Linked DNA regions of Homo sapiens: regions 1, 2, 3, 4, 5 and 6 are each linked to region 7. The links are contacts of gene promoters, found by promoter capture Hi-C in blood cells and fetal thymus (Javierre and others, 2016). All regions are on one chromosome and are shown on one strand. Each heading gives the region's core, a stretch centred on a gene start or on the middle of the fragment in contact. The rest is flanking DNA. Distances are from core to core; before and after follow the strand shown. Region 1 has its middle 54 kb from the start of LINC01953. Region 2 has its middle 41 kb from the start of SPAG16-DT. Region 3 overlaps RNF25 (ring finger protein 25). Region 4 overlaps TTLL4 (tubulin tyrosine ligase like 4). Region 5 overlaps LINC01953 (long intergenic non-protein coding RNA 1953). Region 6 overlaps PLCD4 (phospholipase C delta 4). Region 7 holds the start of XRCC5 (X-ray repair cross complementing 5).

Evidence for each region. The method cuts DNA at HindIII sites, captures the fragments that hold promoters and counts their contacts. A CHiCAGO score of 5 or more calls a contact.
Region 1: a fragment that was not itself captured here is called in contact with the fragment with the promoter of XRCC5 in region 7 in 1 of 17 cell types (total B cells); the score reaches 7.8 in total B cells.
Region 2: a fragment that was not itself captured here is called in contact with the fragment with the promoter of XRCC5 in region 7 in 1 of 17 cell types (naive CD8 T cells); the score reaches 7.2 in naive CD8 T cells.
Region 3: a contact is called between a fragment that was not itself captured here and the fragment with the promoter of XRCC5 in region 7, in 1 of 17 cell types (neutrophils). The highest score is 5.6, in neutrophils.
Region 4: a fragment that was not itself captured here is called in contact with the fragment with the promoter of XRCC5 in region 7 in 1 of 17 cell types (neutrophils); the score reaches 5.2 in neutrophils.
Region 5: a contact is called between a fragment that was not itself captured here and the fragment with the promoter of XRCC5 in region 7, in 1 of 17 cell types (fetal thymus). The highest score is 6.7, in fetal thymus.
Region 6: a fragment that was not itself captured here is called in contact with the fragment with the promoter of XRCC5 in region 7 in 1 of 17 cell types (neutrophils); the score reaches 5.2 in neutrophils.

What each region holds. Positions count from the first base shown.
Region 1 is chr2:213,220,029-213,222,883 of GRCh38, forward strand. No RefSeq gene overlaps it. Among named protein-coding and RNA genes, the nearest start is that of LINC01953, 54 kb to the left of the region's middle. The HindIII fragment of the contact is 2,345 bases long and covers 108-2,452 here.
Region 2 is chr2:213,241,546-213,244,405 of GRCh38, forward strand. No RefSeq gene overlaps it. Among named protein-coding and RNA genes, the nearest start is that of SPAG16-DT, 41 kb to the right of the region's middle. The HindIII fragment of the contact is 4,627 bases long and covers 1-2,860 here.
Region 3 is chr2:218,668,071-218,670,916 of GRCh38, forward strand. It overlaps RNF25 (ring finger protein 25), which reads right to left. Exons shown (of 10, transcript NM_022453.3): 2 at 535-609; 3 at 169-271; 4 at 9-76. Among named protein-coding and RNA genes, the nearest start is that of RNF25, 2.5 kb to the right of the region's middle. The HindIII fragment of the contact is 499 bases long and covers 1,233-1,731 here.
Region 4 is chr2:218,718,100-218,720,853 of GRCh38, forward strand. All of the region lies in intron 1 of TTLL4 (tubulin tyrosine ligase like 4), which reads left to right. Among named protein-coding and RNA genes, the nearest start is that of TTLL4, 8.6 kb to the left of the region's middle. RefSeq lists a silencer at 1,467-1,764. The HindIII fragment of the contact is 161 bases long and covers 1,191-1,351 here.
Region 5 is chr2:213,154,010-213,156,912 of GRCh38, forward strand. LINC01953 (long intergenic non-protein coding RNA 1953) reads right to left here. Exons shown (of 4, transcript NR_146974.1): 4 at 1,807-1,921. Among named protein-coding and RNA genes, the nearest start is that of IKZF2, 3.8 kb to the left of the region's middle. The HindIII fragment of the contact is 3,234 bases long and covers 1-2,903 here.
Region 6 is chr2:218,608,233-218,611,111 of GRCh38, forward strand. All of the region lies in intron 1 of PLCD4 (phospholipase C delta 4), which reads left to right. Among named protein-coding and RNA genes, the nearest start is that of PLCD4, 1.8 kb to the left of the region's middle. The HindIII fragment of the contact is 2,876 bases long and covers 158-2,879 here.
Region 7 is chr2:216,107,910-216,110,609 of GRCh38, forward strand. It overlaps XRCC5 (X-ray repair cross complementing 5), which reads left to right and starts at 1,439. Exons shown (of 21, transcript NM_021141.4): 1 at 1,439-1,548. The coding sequence starts at 1,528. RefSeq lists an enhancer at 1,163-1,784. The HindIII fragment of the contact is 16,954 bases long and covers 1-2,700 here.

The DNA of each region.
Region 1 (2,855 bases), core at 30-2,529, 2.9 Mb before region 7:
CTGGTGCTTCTTAGCACACCACATGAATCATCACAGCATCACAAAATGGGCAATTTAATATTCTATTTTTTCCTACTGCAAAAATATGACCTTTTAGTTAGTGAATAAGCTTCATCTATCTACAGATATTTGCTGCTTTTCATGTGTGATCACATGCAATGTATTTTGAGCTATTTTGGCATCTATAATATATTGCCTAGCAATTTCTGTGAGCAGTTACAGTCGTTACTCAGAACACACAGGGATTGGTTCTAGGACCCCCTGCATATACCAAAATCTGCATATTCAAGTCCTGCAATCAGCAGGCTAAACCCAAGTATATGAAAAGGCAGTGCTTGGTTATGTGTGGGATTTGCATTCTGCATATACTGTATTTTCAATCCTAATTTGGTTGGAAAAAAAATGTGTGTATAAGTGGACCTGCACGGTTCAAACCCATGTTGTTTGAGGTTCAACTGTATTTGTCTTTGAAAGCCATTTGACTAGAATTTTGGCGCTATCTCAGACAAAGATATATTTCTACAGAGTCCAAGAAGGATGGATACAAACAAATGTAAGTTGGCTATAGGACAGCAATCTTGCAGCAGAAAGAGCCAATGTCTGCACAATAGCCATTCCTCCTTTCAACTTTAACAATGTATACTCAAATTTTACTCTGAGCACATAACTCCTTGGAATAATGCCTTCTTTTTGAAACTTGCCATGTATTTAGGGATGGCTATATGTTAGTCATGGACAGTGATTTGCTGGAGCTGGCTTGGCTGGGAGAGTCACTTGTGCACATCTCTCTCCATCACTGTTCAGTGAAGTTGAGTTGGTAGCTTGAAATCAGCCATAGCAGGTATATTTACACAATGAAGATTGGAGGCCTATTTGTCAAATGTTTCCAGCACACTATTGGTTCTGCACAATGAACCAATTGGAAAGTGTTATCCTCTTTAAAAACAAACAAACAAACAAAAAACATCTTGCATGAGTCCCTTGCATCTTCTCCCCTGCATCTTCCTCCACACCTGCTGCTTGGAATGGGGAGGTGATGGATGCTGCTAAAGCAGCGTTCTTATGCCATGAAGCTGAGAGATGACTGGGTTCTTCATGACTTAAAAGAACTGTAGTACCTGTTGACTGCCACATGATGCTGATACTACTGGTCCGTGAACCCTACATTGAGAATGACTGTTACTTTGGGTTTTTTGTTACATGCAGTTGAATCAAATCCTAACTGATAGTGTTAGGAGATTCTGGTGAACTAGAAAAAAAAGACCTCATCTGAAGGCATTCATATTCAAGTTTTTAAAATACTGAGCTGGCCAACGATGTATATCTCCTGACTTTATTAAGCAGTAGAACAGAGAGGAAGGAAGGAATTGCAACCTTGGTGCCAACCTATGGTGGCACTCTACTGCTAGACATTGATGTCCCAGGACCTCACCCCACCTGCAGGATGCACATAGAAGGAATAAAGGAGAAGAAAATAATGAGTAAATAAATGGAAAGTGATAAAGGGGTAGGTATTAGGAAAATAAGATTACATTGTGACCAGTATGTAGATTAAAGCAGACAGTCAGTGCACTGCCATAGCTTGCTTGAATTTTTTACATTCCCAGGCTCTCTGTCTCCACGTGTGTTTTTATTCTCACATTGACAGCACTGTGTCTTTTTATTGCAGGGATGGCCCCTGACTGCCGGAATCTACTTTTTTCCACTGTGGTAGAAGTATTTGGGGACTTATATCCTTCCAGGAGTAGTTCTTATCCAATCACTGATAGGTTCAGGGGTTTAAATATTTCAGCCATTGTGGCTTGATCAGGATAAGTCTGAGGTGTGATCCACACTGTTTAGAGATATCCTCTATGGGACAGAGACAAAGTTACCCTCCATGAAACTTTGCTTTATAATATACCCCTCCTTAGCCTTCTTACCTTACTAGTCCTATTTCCTTGCTACACACCCCATGCCCCTGATTTTCCTGGGAAAATTTTCTATTAATCGTGTTCACATGAGTCATCTTCCGAGAGTCTGTTTCTGGGGAATACAACTTAAGGCAGAGATATAACAATAAGAATTTTAATCTTCTTCCCAGAAAGCAATGGGAAGAATAAAGGGAAGATCAGTCATCCTGTTCTATCTTCTTAAATTTGAGCTTTCTCCACTGACATGTCTCAGATGTGCTTGGGAGGAAAATCAACTCATTTTGGACATCCAGATTCATTCAGGAAATTGGCAATATATATCTGGACTACAGGAAAGAGGTCAGAGCCAGAGATATATTAAATTAAAACAAGCTGGGTTGTAAACTCATAGTGTATGAGAGTTATGCTGATTTACTTTTCTATGAACTACTTGCCCATCCTCACCTAATTTTAAAATTCAGTACAGCTGTGATTTTCATCAAATGTTTATGATCCTATTATAGGATATATTTTTAGCCTTAATAAAAGGAAGTTGATAAAGCTTCATTATCTGTCGTTTCAGAGGAAGAGTAAAAAATCCAACATCTACCAAGTAAGTCTATAATATGTCATCGTAAATCTTCTATTTCCCAAGCCTTTGTCTCTCTCTGACATCAAAGATAAATGACTATTACTAGAATTAATATCTCTTAAATATATCATGATTCTTCAACATTATTACCAAAAGGCTGTTATGAAAACTTCACTAAAATAGAATTTGATTTTCTTTCTATGAACTGTAAGGGTGACTGATTTTTTAGTACTTGTAGTGGAAATGTCTCCCATATTAACTCAGCAGGTTTTCTTAGAATAATAAAATTATTTTATATGTGAGAAAGGAAATTGTAAAATACAGTGGCAAAATTATTCTAGTTTTTTAATCTTCGGAAAGTATGATCATTT
Region 2 (2,860 bases), core at 340-2,839, 2.9 Mb before region 7:
ACAAATAAATCCTGAATGGTGACTGCTGATTTGTTTCAGTTCTTTTGATGTATTTTCACTTGTTTAAATGAGAGCTCCTAGAACAGATATTGGTTACAGATACTGGCACTTAACTTAGAAGCACATGTCATTGAATGACCTATGGGAAATAAACTTTTACCATGCTTTTAGAACTGATATTAGCAAGCAGTTGTCTAAGCTATATTTTTTCTCTGAATCTGCTAATTTTCATGACAACTATATTTGGTCAAGAAAATATACTATTGAAGTGATGCAACACTTCATCACTTTTCCCCCCATCTGACCTGTTTGCCTTGTTGCAACAACATTTTCAGTTTTATACCCGCAGACCATCATCCCATGCGTAGACCCTGATATTTGAAGTCAATGTTATTTCAACAACTGCATGGTTCGCGAAGGCTAGGGCGGGACGTGGAGACCCTACAAAACACTGGCTGTATGATGAGGAGAGATTCAGCAGCAAGTGGAGACCAGGTAGATAGGCAAATCTCAGAATCAAGAGGGTTTTGGCAAGAAACATTAGCCAGAAATCTATGCAGTGTAAGAGTCAAAGGGAAGAAGGTAGCTATGGACATTGGGGCTTAGAAGAAAATCTGAAGTATTAAGCAAGTGTTAGAAGAATAAGTCTGCATCTTAGTCCTAGAGCAACTACAATCCTGGATGAGAACCAAAGCAGAAGTATGGGCAGAAAGGCAGAGACCAGAATCCTCGACCAGGAGTGGGGACAAAATATCTGGTCTTAAGTGTCAAGAAGCTAAGTTTTAGAAGCTGGGTTTAAGGTCAGAATGAGACTTGATTCTGAGCTTACTCCTGGGATTCTTACAATCTTCCTGTCTAGCACCAAAGATCTGTTCCAATATCAGATACTAGAAGTCAGAGAATTTAGTTGACCTGTTCAAGATCACAAGCTAATTAGTGCTGGGGACAAAATTAGATTCCAAGTTTTCAATTCTCACACCAGGGCTCATTAGAACATGATCTGAATGAATCAGAAATGCAGATAGATATATTTAATTGTTTTTGATATGTTCATTTGTCACTACTGTTTCATAACTGCAAAGAGAATTAAAAATTTAGATCAGATTATGGAACAGATAAATTGAAGTAATTCATAGACCTATCTTGTAAAATATATATACATTTGTCTTGCAAAGGCTCAGAATTGACTGATTTTTCTGATTATTATTTATACATCTCAATGAGTTGAATATAGATGGATTCATTATAGATGGTTAATAATTATGTGATTTTCAGGTCAGAAAATTCCATTACCAGCAAATTGCTGAATAAGACATAATTTCATATATTCATCTTACTGATAGGTTTTTCTTTTTCTTTCTTTCATTATACAAAGTTGATATTAAAGAATTCTGGAGATTTTGTGTCTTGGTTTAAACTTTATTGATCTTTTATTGCCTTTATTTACGAAGTCTTTGAATTAAAAGTCTATATGGGATAAATTCTTATATTATTTGAAAATCAACCATTATCTAAAGTTATTTATGCTTTATCCAGTCATAATTAAATTTATAATTTTATGTTCTGTTTTTGTCTTATAACCTTTAAAGTTAGCATCATAGACCCTTTTTTCATACTGGAAATCGCCAACTGTTGTTTTCATTCTTGAAATTATTGCACTTCAGTCTTGCAGAATTGATATAAAGGAACTAATTTTTTGCATTAATCAAAACATAAAAACCAGTAATATTTCAGGATTGTACAAAATTTATCAGATAGTGGTACCAGCTGATGAACTGTAGTATTACAGCCCAGCTGCCTTAGATATCTCTGGGTTTTGTTTGTTTTTAAGCAGAATTGATTTTTTAAACTGTTGAATCATTGAGCTTTCTGGCCTTCATGGGTCCAGGACATTGATATTACAGTTTCATTTTACTACACAGAACCACACTGAAGAATTAAGGTGAACCTTAGACGGAGGTAGAAACTAACCTCTGAAAATCAAAGTGCTTACAGGAAGCTGCAGGTGTGGGGAGTGGGAGGAGAATGTGCCAAGGCAAGGGGAAGGGAGAGGTTTTTGAGGGAATTTCCGCCACTGAGAATATGAAGTCAGACAATTCACAGTAATAGGAGTTTTTTTGCTTTTTTTTACAAACCAAAAACAGGGAAGAAAAGAAAAGGTCAAAAATAAATGGCACGTCCAGAGACTGGGAAAGAGCTAGAAAGACGACAAAATATTACGTGATGATATCTATTAAATATATCCAAGTTGAAGTCTACACCCTTGCTACTGAAAGTGTGGCACAAGAACTAGCAACATCAGCACCAGATGGGAACTTGTCAGAAACGCAGACTCCTGGGCCCCAACCTAGAAAGATCAAACCAAGATCTGCATTTTGACAATAGCCTCCAGGCTGGTAGAATGCACATTCAGATTTGAGAGTAAAGTTTGGGGAACCTTTTTTTTTTTTTTTTAACATCAACATGAATAGAAATATACATTTAAAGTTATCAAAATTACTAGGAAATTTTTATTTAATGTTCAAATTTCACATTTTAAAATGATGAATAAATATTAGAAATCTTATCAAAATCTGTTTTACTTCTCTCAATTTTCTTCTTATAAAATTATCAAGGTATTTATAAAGCATGTTTAGTTAAAAGCACCCCATTATGTGTTTTATCATATTAAAACATTTTAATTTTTAATTGATTAAAATGAACTATGAGCCTGCTCTCTAAGTTGAAATTACATTTCTTCCTAAGTTTTGTGGCTGGATGATGCTGTTCTTTTACAACATTATTTTAAATAAATGTGTGAATACAAAGCACTGAGCTTGTTTTAAATACTCTACAAACCTGACAATGTTCTTTTTCTTGA
Region 3 (2,846 bases), core at 232-2,731, 2.6 Mb after region 7:
CAACTTACGTGTGGATCTGTTCATCTGAAAGTCCTCGGGGATTTCGGATAGAGATCTGTGGCACCTCATGGGGATACTAGTGGGGGCAAATAACAAGTTACTGCTGAAGCGGTCCACCCCAGGGACTCTCCCCTTCCTCCCTTTGCTGCCACACAGTAGGGGCTTCACCTCTGCTGGGACCTGAAGCACCAGAGTGAAGCAGACATACTGTGAATCCTGGTCCTCTGCAGTGGCAGGATGCAAAGTGATGTAGATCTCCCATGGTGAAGTTCTGCAGGTGGATCAAGTGGACACGCAGATGTGACTGGGTAGGGGCTTGGGGGCTGGGGAGGATGGGGCTGAGACAGTGAAGTGGGCAAAGGAAGTACACATTGGACTCTTTCTTTTGGGGTAGGATTAAAGGAATAGCTTTTGTCTACACAAGAGAAATATTATCTCTGAATCAAGGCTCACAATGTCTTAAGACCCAAATTCAGCATAGAACCTCTCCTCATTACTAGGGGGACTCCTGCCCACCACTGGTTGAATACATACCTGCCATTTCCTTTAATCACCTGTAGTTCATCTAGATAGATGGACTCCAATACTTCAACTTCAGAGGGAAGGACCCTAGAGAGACAGGAGTAGACTAACTTACCATTACAGCTCTCCCTGTGGAAGCCTGCTAAGGCCAATAAAGGCAGGCTTTGTAGAAAAATGGCAATCTACCAGAATGCATTCTCCTGCTAAACTCCTTAAAAACAAGGAATATGTTACCTTAAGTTGTCAACTGGCCAAATAGAAGGCATGGAAATCAGAATTTTAGGCATCATTTCTGCCAACAGATGAAGAAGTGGATTCTAGAGAAGTAAAATGACTAACCAAGGCTTAACATAGGTAGAACTAGGCCCAGAGCCAGGTTTCCTGACTCCCTGTTTAAGTTTCATTCCCCTTAGTGGCTGAATCTCTGGTCTAGAGATATGGCACTCATTCATTAGCATTAACGTTACCAATATTACTCCAACCTTTCCCTACGTCACTGTCCAGTGTGGATCCCAGTGCCTTGGCTACTGTCTACATACAGTTTTAACACCAGTCACCCTAAGCCTTCTTAAAGGAGATAGCAACCTCAACACAACATATTTAGGGTGGTATAAAGGCTGTGTTGTAATGGAAGAGCCAGCAGCCTCGGAGTTAGTTAACAGGTACCAATCACTTACAAGCTATGCAATCTGGGACGTGACCTCTCTGTAAGCTTAAGTTATCCTGTCTGTCACATATAGATAATAACACCTACTCTCTAGGGTTATTGTGAGGATAAAAGGTGATTTGTTTACATAAAGTACCTAATAGTATCTGGGCTATCGTAGCTAGTCTACGTCCTCTTTTTTTCCTGTCTGTATATAACCTTCTCCCTTAGAAGGAAAGAGGGAAGGAAGGAGGTAATAGAGTACTCTGGATGTATTTATGACCTGGCTGTCTGGTTGATCTAGATCAGCCTGTTGAGGTTAGGATCCATGGTTCTGATGTAAATCAAGGGACACACATACTTAAGCATAGAAACAGCAGTTGTAATGAAATTGAAGCTGAGTGATCAGTTTGTGTCTACAGCTCTACCAAGTGATACATGGAAAAATGCACACTTTGCTTTCTCACACTGCTCCCTCTTCATTCTAAGAGTAAGGCTGCCCCAGCACGACCTATGTCAGTGTTGTTAAGTCTTAGGCAGAAACTTCAAAATATAAAATATAAAGCTTCACACCTCACAGATAACAGTGTAGTTCTGGCTGACATGGGAGTGGGAGTCTCACAGTACTACAGGCTGCTGCACTCATTGTTGCTGTCTCCATGGCTCAAGGTGTCTCCCCTGAATCTTAAAAGTTCCCCTGAACAGGTAAACTGTAAGTTATCCCAGCGCTTTGGGAGGCTGAGGTGGGAGGATCACTTGAGGCCAGGAGTTCGAGACCAGCCTGGGCAACAAAGCGAGACACTATCTCTACAAAAAATAAAAAATTAACTGGACACGGTGGTCCCAGCTACTTGGGAGACTGAGGCAGAAGAATCACGGGAGCCCAGGAGGTCGAGGCTGTAGTGAGCCATGATCTTGCCACTGTACTCCAGCCTGGGTGACAAAGTAAGACTCTGTCTCTTAAAAAAAAAAAAAAAAAAGAAGTTTCCCTGAACACTTTGAAAACCAGTAGTCTAGATACTCTTAATAACGGCCAGTACTAGCTGGGCTCCCTGAACCAATGTAACATTGAGGTGTAGCCTCAGTCAAGTGGCCCTTCAATACTTCGCCCACCCTAGTTATATGGGTCCTGGATGGGATGGTGGTAAGGTGGTGACAACAAAATGGGGGAGGGGGGCCGGGCGCGGTGGCTCAGGCCTGTAATCCCAGCACTTTGGGAGGCTGAGGCGGGTGGATCATGAAGTCAGGAGATAGAGACCATCCTGGCTAACAGGGTGAAACCCCGTCTCTACTAAAAATCACAAAAAATTAGCTGGGTGTGGTGGCGGGCGCCTGTAGTCCCAGCTACTCGGGAGGCTGAGGCAGGAGAATGGCATGAACCCGGGAGGCGGAGCTTGCAGTGAACCGAGATTGCGCCACTGCACTCCAGCCTGGGCGACAGAGCAAGACTCCGTCTCAAAAAAAAAAAAAAAAAAAAAAAAAATTGGGGGAGTGGGGACTGAAGAATGTCCTAGTACAAAGAATCTAAGGTGTGGAGTCAGACAGATATGGATTTCTATTCATAATTTTCTATCTTTTGGCAAATCACTTTACTTCTTTGGGACTCATCTAGTCTTCCCAGGTGCCTGCACCTCAGTTATTAATGAAAAGGAGGCCGGGTGTGGTGGCTCACGCCTGT
Region 4 (2,754 bases), core at 21-2,520, 2.6 Mb after region 7:
CTGTTGAGCAGTTGAGGTAATCTCATCAGAGATCTTGTGGACTGTAGACTGAACCATTTCTGATGTCCTGAGTTTCCCTGGTGACCGAGGGAAACACCTAGTTGAAGGAGGAAAGGGAAACTGCATTTCCCAAGAGCCACACTCTCTTGTAGGAGAGTGATTTAATTAGTGGGTAATGAATAATTGCTTTCTCTAGAAATAGATACCTTGTCCAAGTTGGTCTGGGCCTGGTCCCTGGAGACTTGTTGGTTTGCGACAGCAGCAATAGATTTTCTTTTCTTTTTTTTTTTTCTTTTGAGACGCAGTTTCACTCTTGTTGCCCAGGCTGGAGTGCAATGGCGCAATCTCGGCTCACCGCAACCTCTGCCTCCCAGGTTCAAGCGATTCTCCTGCCTCCACCTCCCAAGTAGCTGGGATTACAGGCATGCACCACCATGCCTGGCTAGTTTTGTATTTTTAGTAGAAATGGGGTTTCTCCATGTTGCTCAGGCTGGTTTCGAACTCTCGACCTCAGGTGATCTGCCCACCTCGGCCTCCCAAAGTACTGGGATTTCAGGCATGAACCACTGCGCCCGGCCAGCAATAGATTTTCTAACATAGGCTACTAATCATTCACACTCCTTTAAGGAGGAAACTTGAGGCAAAATCACCCCATAAAGATTGGAGGACAGAACTGTATAGGCAGTTTCCAAATGCTGCATGAAGATGACAAAGTAGGATGTTCAGATTCCTGAGAATGGGTGTTTTAAAGGGGAGAGTCTGGAGCCAGGGACATCAGTCAGGCTGCTTACCTTAACAGTCCTGCACTTGGTGTTAGAGGGGTTGGAGACTGGGCTGAGGCAGCCATGCAAATAGAAGGGGATGTTTCAGGCCATTTTGTTGATCCATACAACTTTCTGCAGTTTTTTATTCTTCACTCTTACCCCTTTATTCAAGTTTTATTTTTATTTTTAACAGTTTTGTGGAGGTATAATTCACATTGAACATATCCATCGTTTCTAAGTCAATTTTTTAAAAACTTTTGTTCTAGGAAGACTTAGTGTTCCATAAAGTTGTTGGGGGAGGAGACTTGGGCAATATTGCTAATAGGAGGCCAAACTGGACCAGGGTTCTTCCCACCCCCTTCTGCCAGCGTGGCTCTGTATTTGAGGTTAAAGATCCCCAGAGATTTCCTATAAAAGCCATCATGAAGCTTATAGGGCATATCACTAGGGTAAGTGAACAGTGGTGTGAGATAGCCTTGGGAAAGTATCACGTGAGAGGGACACACAACAGGTGCTCGTGGAGAGGGTGGGTCTTGAGCTGGGTCTGGAAAAGGTAAATAAAATATGGTAAGGATTCACAAGGAAGAAGCTTAGTGGAGTAAAGCCCTGCAGACAGGCATTTGAAAGGTTTATTCCAGGAATTTAGTGTAAGACCAGCGCAGTTCACATAACAGAGTTCAAGGTAGGAGGAAATGGAAATAAGCCTTAAAAAAAAAAAAAAAAAGATTAAGGGTCGACTATGGAGTCTTGTGGACCAAAGCTAAGAAATCTCACATGACAGTCATCTGGAATGCTTGTTAAAACTGCAGACTCATGGCCCTACTCCACACCAACTGAATCCTCTTGAAGGTGAATCTCAGGACTTTGCATCTCAGGTTATTCTGATGCAGGTGGGCCACCACAGTGTTTAGTAAGTGCTCATGGACCGTTTTTGAAAAGGGATTGACCTGATGAAGCAATACAGCAAAATTAATCTGGAGGTTGCCTGCAGGGTGGAATTAGGAAGGGCACACCTTGGAGACACATGCTTCAGTCAGTGCTGTTGCAGTAAGTCCAGATCTAGGGGCATGGTGGAAATAATAAAAGGAGGAAGAATGCTAAGTAGACAGAGTGTCTTAAATTTCATGACTGGTTTCCCTTTGGGGAAATAAAGTAAAGGAAAAAGTCAGAAATAACTTAGTTTTCCTCTTAGGTGATTTGGAGAAAGAAGGGTCCACTCAAGGAAATGGGACGATCAGGAGTGGAGAGCTAGTTTGACACACTAGATTGAAGTGGTTGGACATGCATTTGGAAAGGTGGAACAGGCAGTTGGTGATGCAGACATGAAACTTGAGACGACAAATCTGCAAAATGACTCTTCTGCAGATAATAGTTGACATTGTGAGAGAGATTGATTTGATGTGGGGGAGGATGAAAGAACTGGAGGATTTTGGATTGGCCTCAGGAGGAGGAAAGACACTATTGAAGGGGTTGGGTACAGCTGTGGCAGAGTGCACGCACTGAGTAAAAAATAGCAACAAGGAGATGGTGGTAAGAGGGGAACGCCTTTTTCATATGAATAGGTCCAACTCGTGGCTTTGCTGATGTGATATTGTGATATAATAAGAAATACTCCAGCCTGGTCAGCATGGTGAAACCCTGTCTCTACAAAAATACAAAAATTATCCGGGCACGATGGCGGGTGCCTGTAATCCCGGCTATTCGGGAGGCTGAGGCGGGAGAATTGCATGAACGCGGGAGGCAGAGGTTGCAGCGAGCCGAGATCGTACCATTGCACTCCAGCCTGGGCAACACAGTGAGACTCCGGTCTCAAAAAAAAAAAAAAAAAGAAAGAAATACATAATTGGGGTGTGCCCCTGGTTCCTGGCTCCTAAAACCTTCAGAACTTGTAAGTGATAAGTGTCTTTTTATATGCTAATGAGATGATTGATAGCTGGGGACTCCTGAATAGCCTCAAGATGGGAGGCTGATTGCCGAGAGAACCAACCAT
Region 5 (2,903 bases), core at 132-2,631, 3.0 Mb before region 7:
TTCTTATTTGCAGGTTATGGTGTATCTAACTCATCCAGAGAAATCAAGATTATGTTTTCATACCAAGATTGGGGGTTTTATTTCATGCCTGTGGAGTCTATAGTCCTAAGATTCACAATGCAATCCACTCATGGGAAAGAACCCTTGCATAAACTGTAATTCACTTTGTTCAGAATTTCTCTGGGTAGTTTTGTTTGTTTGTTCGTTTTGGTTTTGTTTTTGTTGAGACAGAGTCTCACTCTGTCACCCAGGCTGGAGTGCAGTGGCGCCGTCTCGGCTCACTACAATCTCTGCTTCCTGGGTTCATGCGATTCTCCTGCCTCAGCCTTCTGAGTAGCTGGGATCACAGGCGCCCACCACCACACCTGGCTAATTTTTGTATTTTTTAGTAGAGACAGGGTTTCACCATGCTGGCCAGGGTGGCCTCGAACTCCTGACCTCAGGTGATCTCCCAAAGTGCTGGGTCTCCCAAAGTGCTGGGATTACAGGCGTGAGCAATTGCGCCTGGCCTCTCTGGGTAGTATTTTGATAGTTAGAGGGTGCATTTATTTCTGTCCTTTGCCAGAAGACATAGACTGTACACATTTTTTTAAGGTACTTATATAACTATACTGTACATTAAAATATACCACTAGGGAAGTGGAGTACCATGTTCTTTGGCCACTGTATCCAGTTTGGAGAGTTAAGTTTTTACTTTAGGGAAGAAGTGGCAGGGTGGGGAGGAAACAGACCCCTCAGCCCTTACCATTTTTCACGTAGCTGGTTCTTTCTCATCCTTTCTGTCCCATCCTACCCAAACATTTTCCTGCACCAACTTCTATTGTAGCACCTTGAATATTTCCTTCATAACATTGTTTTCTCAGAAGTAGAATAGTATTTGGTACAAGTTGGTACTCAATAAACATTTATTAAATGAATGAATATGGAGGAAATGATGTACTCAGCTGGCTTTCATGTATTAAACTCTATTTTCAAAGGACGAAAAGGGTCCCATTTCCAAGATACATGCTGATTTCATAAAGAATTTGGTCAGATCTTGGCTCATAAGTCATATTACAAATATCTTTAACAGGTCAGCTCTGGCTTACAAGCCACACAAAGGATCTGAACCTCTTGGTAGATAACAGTTATATTTACAAAATGTATATAAAATAAAATGTTACATAAATTAAAAATAAAATTATATATAAATATATATTTTTAACATTTATATATTAATTTTGCAAATATAAATATGAAAAGTGGCTAACATTGTATATAAAATGCAATTTGGAATAAAATACATTTATGTAATGCCTCTGTTTCAAAAATGAATTATTTCCTGTTACCACCTGACAATTCATGAACCAGGGTGACTATCAAGAAATGCAGCAGGTTTAATTTTGTAATCACTAAGTGTAATCAGCAAAAGAAAAATTTTACAAGGCAATATAGCTAAAAGGTACATTGTGGAGTATTGGTTTTGTTTTCTTTGGGTAGTTTGTTTTATCTATTTTAGATTTAAAAGCCCTAAGTACCCTTTAAAGGAATTTGGGTAAAATCCCCTTTTGTTTGCTCAAGGAATTAATTGTACGTTTTTAAGTTTTGGGGGTCTTTTTAGCAGAAGGTGGGAGGGGACAATTTGGAAAATTATAATTCTTTCCTAAAATCAAAGAAGAAATTTTTGGAAATGAATTCTATATTTTTTTATTTAAATGGCTTTATTGTGCTAGATATATAATCAACCAGAATAGGTACCCTAAAATAACTTGAATCCCTGAAAAAGTTAAGAATAACAGGCACACATAAGCACAATGTTTTAAAACCGATAACTTCTTTTATTTTTGTCAGGTGATGTTGTTCTTGTCTTTGAAGTAGTGTTCTCTTTTTAAGCGGGATATGGAACAATGGTCTCACTTACTCCTGTTGACCTAGATTGGCACTATGAAGAAGCAAGAAAGCCAAAAATGGAACTACCTTTTCAAAGAAAATATTCTAAGATACCAAATCCAGTTCATAAGTAAAGCATATAAATACTGTCAAACTTTACTTCCCTGAGTGCACTGATAGTCTGGGGTCTATTCAGCTGGCATATAAGTCCCACATGCTGAGGGTCTTCTAATTCCATCTACCTTGAACAATAGTTTCTTTTAACAGTCTTAAGAGTGTCACTTTGCAATTAGAGATAAGGCTCTTATGCAAATACTCATGTCCCTAAAAAAGGTAACATTATGACTTAAATTCACACGTTGATAGAATACTATCAGATTTCTTCCAGAGAGAGTGTTTTGCTGTAGAGCAGGTGATAAGCTAACTCTATCCCAAATGAGAATGATAAATTACGGGAGTTAAACCAGTGGGGTGAGGACCAGAGAGGTTCCTGAAAAAAATGAAAGCACACATTTTTAAAGATGTCATTAAAACCCACCATAATTGCTTTTAAAATGCAGATTTGTTCAGCATTTGATAAAATGAGTTCCATTAATGCAAAAACAAGGGAATTTTGAACTGGGTCAAGTGGTGATGCTCAAAGTCAACTCTAAAAAGGATTGAGAAGAAACCCTAAAATTTTAGAGCACAAAAAGTACAGGGAAGTTATTGGAATCCTCAATGAAGTGTTAATTCAAGAAATGAAAAAGATATGATTCAACTTTGTAAAGAAATAACTTACCAAAAGAGGGTAACAAAGGAGAAGACGCCTGGTGAGCATTAATTTAGATACAGGACAAAAAAAAAACTCATTATTTGGAATATTTTTCCGCAGCTACATGCAAGAGATTAAAAAGAAACTTATTTTGCTGGGGACCAGCAGGAAAACCAAACATAATCATTTGACTTTGGAATTGGGAGGTGAAAATAGGACAGATTAACCTAACGATCTGTGATATCAAAGGTTGGATTCTGCAAGAGAGATCCATACTCTA
Region 6 (2,879 bases), core at 346-2,845, 2.5 Mb after region 7:
GCTTATCCTCCTTTATCCTTACAGCTTTCCTCCTGGCTGTGTCAGTCGCCCTTTATATGAGGTACCTCTTAGCTTATGCAGGGCCAGAAGTGCCAACCCTAGCCACTCCTGAGGTGAACTCCACCCCCAATAAGGGAAGAAAAAATTGGAGTAGCTAAGCTTTAGCATAGATTCATTAACAGTTTGTTGAGGGTTGCAAAATAGGGGTTGGCCAAGAACCATGGGGAATCAGAGATCCCTGGTAATAGAGAGAGTTATGAAAGTCCCTTAGAAAGTTCTCTAAAGAACTTGTTCTTTGCCTATTCCATGGGCCAGAGCAGTTTCTTAGTGCACCAGAGTGCTACGTTGGTAAGAAAACCTACTTCTAGTTCTGCCTGTGCCATTAACTAGCTACGGGACCTGGAGCCACAACTTCCAGATCTGTGATACGAGAGAGTTTAGGGTTTCCCAGACTTGCCTGTGTACCAAGTGTACTTGTTAAAAATAAATATATTATTGAGCCCCACCCTGGGTAACTCTGATCTGGTAGATTTTTGGGTAGGGCTAAGGATCTCAATTTCAAGACATTCCAGAGGCTATTGATGTAGCTGGGAATGTCTGGATTAGATGTGTTATAAAAGAACTGGCCGGGCGCGGTGGCTCACACCTGTAATCCCAGCACTTTGGGAGGCCGAGGCGGGTGGATCACGAGGTCAGGAGATTGAGACCATCCTGGCTAACATGGTGAAACCCCGTCTCTACTGAAAATACAAAAAATTAGCCGGGCGAGGTGGGTGGCGGGTGCCTGTAGTCCCAGCTACTCGGGAGGCTGAGGCAGGAGAATAGCGTGAACCCCGGGGGGCGGAGCCTGCAGTGAGCCAAGATCGCACCACTGCACTCCAGCCTGGGCGACAGCGAGACTCTGTCTCAAAAAAAAAAAAAAAAAGAACCTTCAAGCTCCAACATTCTGTGACCTGTGACCAGAGCCAATTTGTCCTCTATATGAACCAGGTTAGGCATAATCCTTCTCAGAAGCAAGGGAGTAGACAAAATGATTCTCTTCTTTCTTGCCCCTCAGAGAGACCTGAGACACCCTGAATCCCACTGTAATCTCCTTGGTGCCATTGGTAACTCTGCCAAAGTCCATCTCTAGGTGACATGAAGTCTCTTAGAAATTGAGGACCAAATTGCGCTCTGCAGCTCTGGGCTACTTCCCATCTCATTTTGTGTCCCTATTTTCGTATCTGTATTAGAGAGGTAATTACCATATCATTGAAGATCTCCATATATGTGTCTATGAGTTAATATTTAAGACCAACCTTTCTTATTATCAGATGTCATCCTCTGTGTTTTTCCCAGTGCCCTCACTCCCAAACCCTTTGTTCCTTCTCTTCTCATTGCACCTGCATCAGCTGTGGGCATCCTTCCCATTCTACCATTAGACACCAGAGGAAACAGCAAGACCTAGAATACCTAGGTTCTAACTCACATTGTCTGGGCAGTTTGTTTGGTCAATCTCCTAGGATACAGAGAAAAGTGAGGCTGAGCAGAGGGACACGCATGCTACTGAGTTCTGAACCCAAGTGTCCTCCCTTCTGGACCACAGTCTCAAAATTCTCAAAGGAGATGAGACTCAGAGCCATTGCGAATTAGTGGAGTCAAAAGAGGGAACCAACTGGAAGAGGTGATGGGGAGAAGGGATGAGGAGAAGGAAGAGAAGAGGAGAGACTGACCTAGGTGAGCAAACAGGAAGACAGAGGATTAAGAGAGAGAGAGAGGTGGGGATGGGGCTGGGCATGATGGCTCACGCCTGTAATCCCAGCACTTTGGGAAGCCCAGGCAGGAGGATTGCTTGAGGCCAGGAGTTTAAAACTAGGGCTACACAGGGAGACCCCATCTCCATACAAAACAAATAATAATTTAAAAAAAATTTTTTTTATAGTGAACTGGGAAGAAAGGAAAAGGACCAGGTCAGGCATGGGATAGGGAAAGGAAAGAAAATGAGATGAAAGAGGCTGGGCATGGTGGCTCACCCCTGTAACCCCAGCACTTAGGGAGGCTGAGGCGGGTGGATCATCTGAGGTCAGGAGTTTGAGACCAGCCTGGCCAACATAGTGAAACCCCGTCTCTACTAAAAATAAAAAAAATTAGCCAGGCGTGGTGGCACACACCTGTAATCCCAGCTACTTGGGAGGCTGAGGCAGGAGAATCACTTGAACCCAGGAGGCGGAGGTTGCAGTGAGCCAACATCATGCCACTGCACTCCAGCCTGGGCGACAGAGTGACACTCCGTCTCAAAAAAAAATAAATAAATAGAAATAAAGAAAATGAGACCAAAGAAAAGCAAGACTATTCAGAGTACAGAGGGAACAGAAAGTGATGGAGAGGAGAGACAAAATACCAATGTCCCTTATTGATTCCTAGCCTTGCTTCAACTGTTTTCTAGAGAAGGCCCTTTCCAAGAGCAGAGTCATTGTGAGATCCTTGAGCTGGTTGTATGGAGACCTGGGTTCTTTTTTTTTTCCTCCTGCCCAAGACAGAGTTTTGCTTTTGTTGCCCAGGCTGCAGTGCAATGGCGCCATCTCGGCTCACTGCAGCCTCCGCCTCCTGGGTTCAAGCAATTCTCCTGCCTCAGCCTCCCAAGTAGCGGAGATTATAGGTGTGCACCACTACTCCCAGCTAATTTTTGTATTTTTAGTAGAGAAGGGGTTTCACCATGTCGGTCAGGCTGGTCTCGAACTCCTGGCCTTACATGATCTGCCCATCTCAGCCCCCCAAAGTGCTGGGATTACAGATGTGAGCTACCGTGCCCGGCCAGAGACCTTGGTTCTAATTCCAGTTCTGTCACTCATTAAATGACTCTGGCACTAATTCTTTTTACTTCACCTAACCTTTCTAGT
Region 7 (2,700 bases), core at 189-2,688:
CCTTTGCTGGAGGAGATTTAGCTGACAACCTCACAGATCTTCCCCGCCCCTTCTGCCGAGCTGATCTTTCTCTTGGAAATCTTACCCGCAGGGAAGGGCGAGTGTCCGTGCCTGCCTGCCTGCCTGCTGCAGCCCGCGCAAAGCTGAGCGGCCAGGGCGCTGCTGTTCCTTTAAAGTATTATTAAAAATAATATTTCAGCTTTTAAGTAACTCCTTGAGTTTGAATCAAAAGCTGGAAGAACCTCCTGGGCTCTATGAGCACCTCTGAATATGTCTGACTCTACATTCTAGAGGCTTCAATGTATTTATAATTTTGGCTCATAGATTCTCCACATCTTTTCAGCTTCAATTCTTGCTTTTCCCAGAAACAATTTTCAAGCAGGAGAGAATATTGATTGGACTTGATTTTCTCAGTTTGGGCAGAGGTTTGCAGACACTTTGCAGGTTGCCAGACCCTTCGTCCAGCCACCTGTCAGCTGGGGGTCATATGGTATAGAAAGCAGTCATTTCTATGCAAGGTACTGCTTGGGCCTGCCTCCCTCAAAGGGGTAGGGGATGCGGGCTGGACAAAGGGCTCGTGATCAAGTAAAGCACTGTGATGACAGCTGCTATTTCTATATCTCCCTAGACTTGTCTTCTAAATTAAACCTTGACTCCTCCCTTCCAAGCTGGAGCCACTGCTAACTACTGGGAGAGCCTTAGCAGATAAAGTCTCATGCCTCCAGGCGTTTGTGCATCCCATTTTCTCTGCAGAGTAGAATCTCCCTTCTACTTTTGTGCTCCTGGGGACGTCCTACTCTTCTTCCCCAGTTGGCTCTAAGGTTATCACATCGGTGAAGTGTTTCATTATCACTTTTTAGAAGAAACTGAGTCTTTTAGAGAAGTTAAGTGACTTTCTGCATTCATACTCATACTCAAGAAAATCTAACTCCACAATAACCAAAAATAAAAAGTAGAAAAAAACCCACAAGTGATGAGAAAAAAAAAAATCAAAAGTTATAAAAAATAAATGAAAAAATGAAATTAAAGGAAAAAAGATTTTTTAAAAAAGTAAAAAAAAGAAAAGAAATCTAACTCCAGAGCTCTGACACAAAATGCCTTAGGTGTTATTCTCAATGAGAGAAAAGGGACGTGAATCTTTAAGTGATTAAGTGAATCTTTAAGTAAATCTGTCGTACTAGCGTTTCAGGCGGCTCAAACACCACACGCTCCCGACTACGGCGGAATGGAGAGAATGTGCGCATGCTCGGCGGGAATCTGCGCATGCTCGGCGGGAATCTGCGCATGCTCGGAGAGAATCTGCGCATGCTCGGCCGGAATCTGCGCGAGCTCGGCGGGAATCTGCGCAAGCTCGGCGGGAATCTGCGCATGCTCAGAGTTCCGGGGCACGGTTTCCCCGCCCCTTTCAGGCCTAGCAGGAAACGAAGCGGCTCTTTCCGCTATCTGCCGCTTGTCCACCGGAAGCGAGTTGCGACACGGCAGGTTCCCGCCCGGAAGAAGCGACCAAAGCGCCTGAGGACCGGCAACATGGTGCGGTCGGGGAATAAGGTATAAAGAAAGCCATGGACTTGGGCTTTACCCGGACTGGGGATCCGGAGAGGGTGGTTCGGAAGCAGGAATCGTGGGATCGCGGTCAAGACAAAGAATGGGGCAAGAGAAGATCATGGTGGTGGGCTCAGTCAGGAGGGCCGGGACCGAGGGATGCGCTATGAGAAAAGCTGGAGATTTGGGGCTCCAAGACCTGAATTTGAGCCTCGCTGACTCCACCTCTTCCATTACCCACCCATCCCATCCCTCTTCTCCCTCTCTACCTGCTCTTTGTCTCACCTGCCTCCCCACCCGCCTCCCCTCTCTCTCTCTTTATCCCATTCCACTCCCTAGCCCCACTTCCTCTATTACTTCCGAGCCTGGGTTCTTAAGATCTCTATGAGAATGAAAATTAGCTGTGATAAAGCAACTATCCCACAGGGCTTGTTGTAAAACTTAAGAGAGGGACTATCTGTGACTAAAATAACTTAAACTGTAAAGCGTCGTATTATTAGCTTTATAATAACGTAGTATCCCGCATTTATTGAAAGCCCACTCTGTGAGGGACGGATCTAAACCTTTTATTCTTATCTCATTTAATCTTCACAACCCCTTGAAGTGAAAACTATTTATCCCCATTTTGCAAGTGGGAAAACCGAGGAATAAAGAACTGTGGGCTTTTCCTGGTGAAATCCGGATTTGAATCCAAGCTGTCTGGTTTCAGGGCCCTGGAGAACCCCTGTGTTGCTAGAAATCTATGACCATTGGTGTCCCAGATCAGTAACAGAAATTACAATGAATTTTAAAGTGATTTTTTTTTTTCAACATAAAAGAGTGGTAGTTGTCTCTGAAGGGTCACTAGAGGGAGATGTGGTTCCAGGGATTAATGAATTTATTCAATACAGATAAACAAGATACGAGTTTGAGCAACTGATCCCTAGTTCCCTCAACTCCTCATTGAGAAATGTTGATTAAAACGATCATGAACTTTTAATAATGCCACTCACCTCCTTTTTTCGTCCTCTTTCAGCTGCTGAAAACTTTGTAGCTCTAGTGGAGGAGCTGTTTGTTGCAGATGAACTGGAAGTAAAATTCTAACAGCCTGTATTGCTTCGGTATAGAAATGAAGAGTTGCTATGCTACCCGGTTTCTCTTTCTCAGTTTTCTTACTGC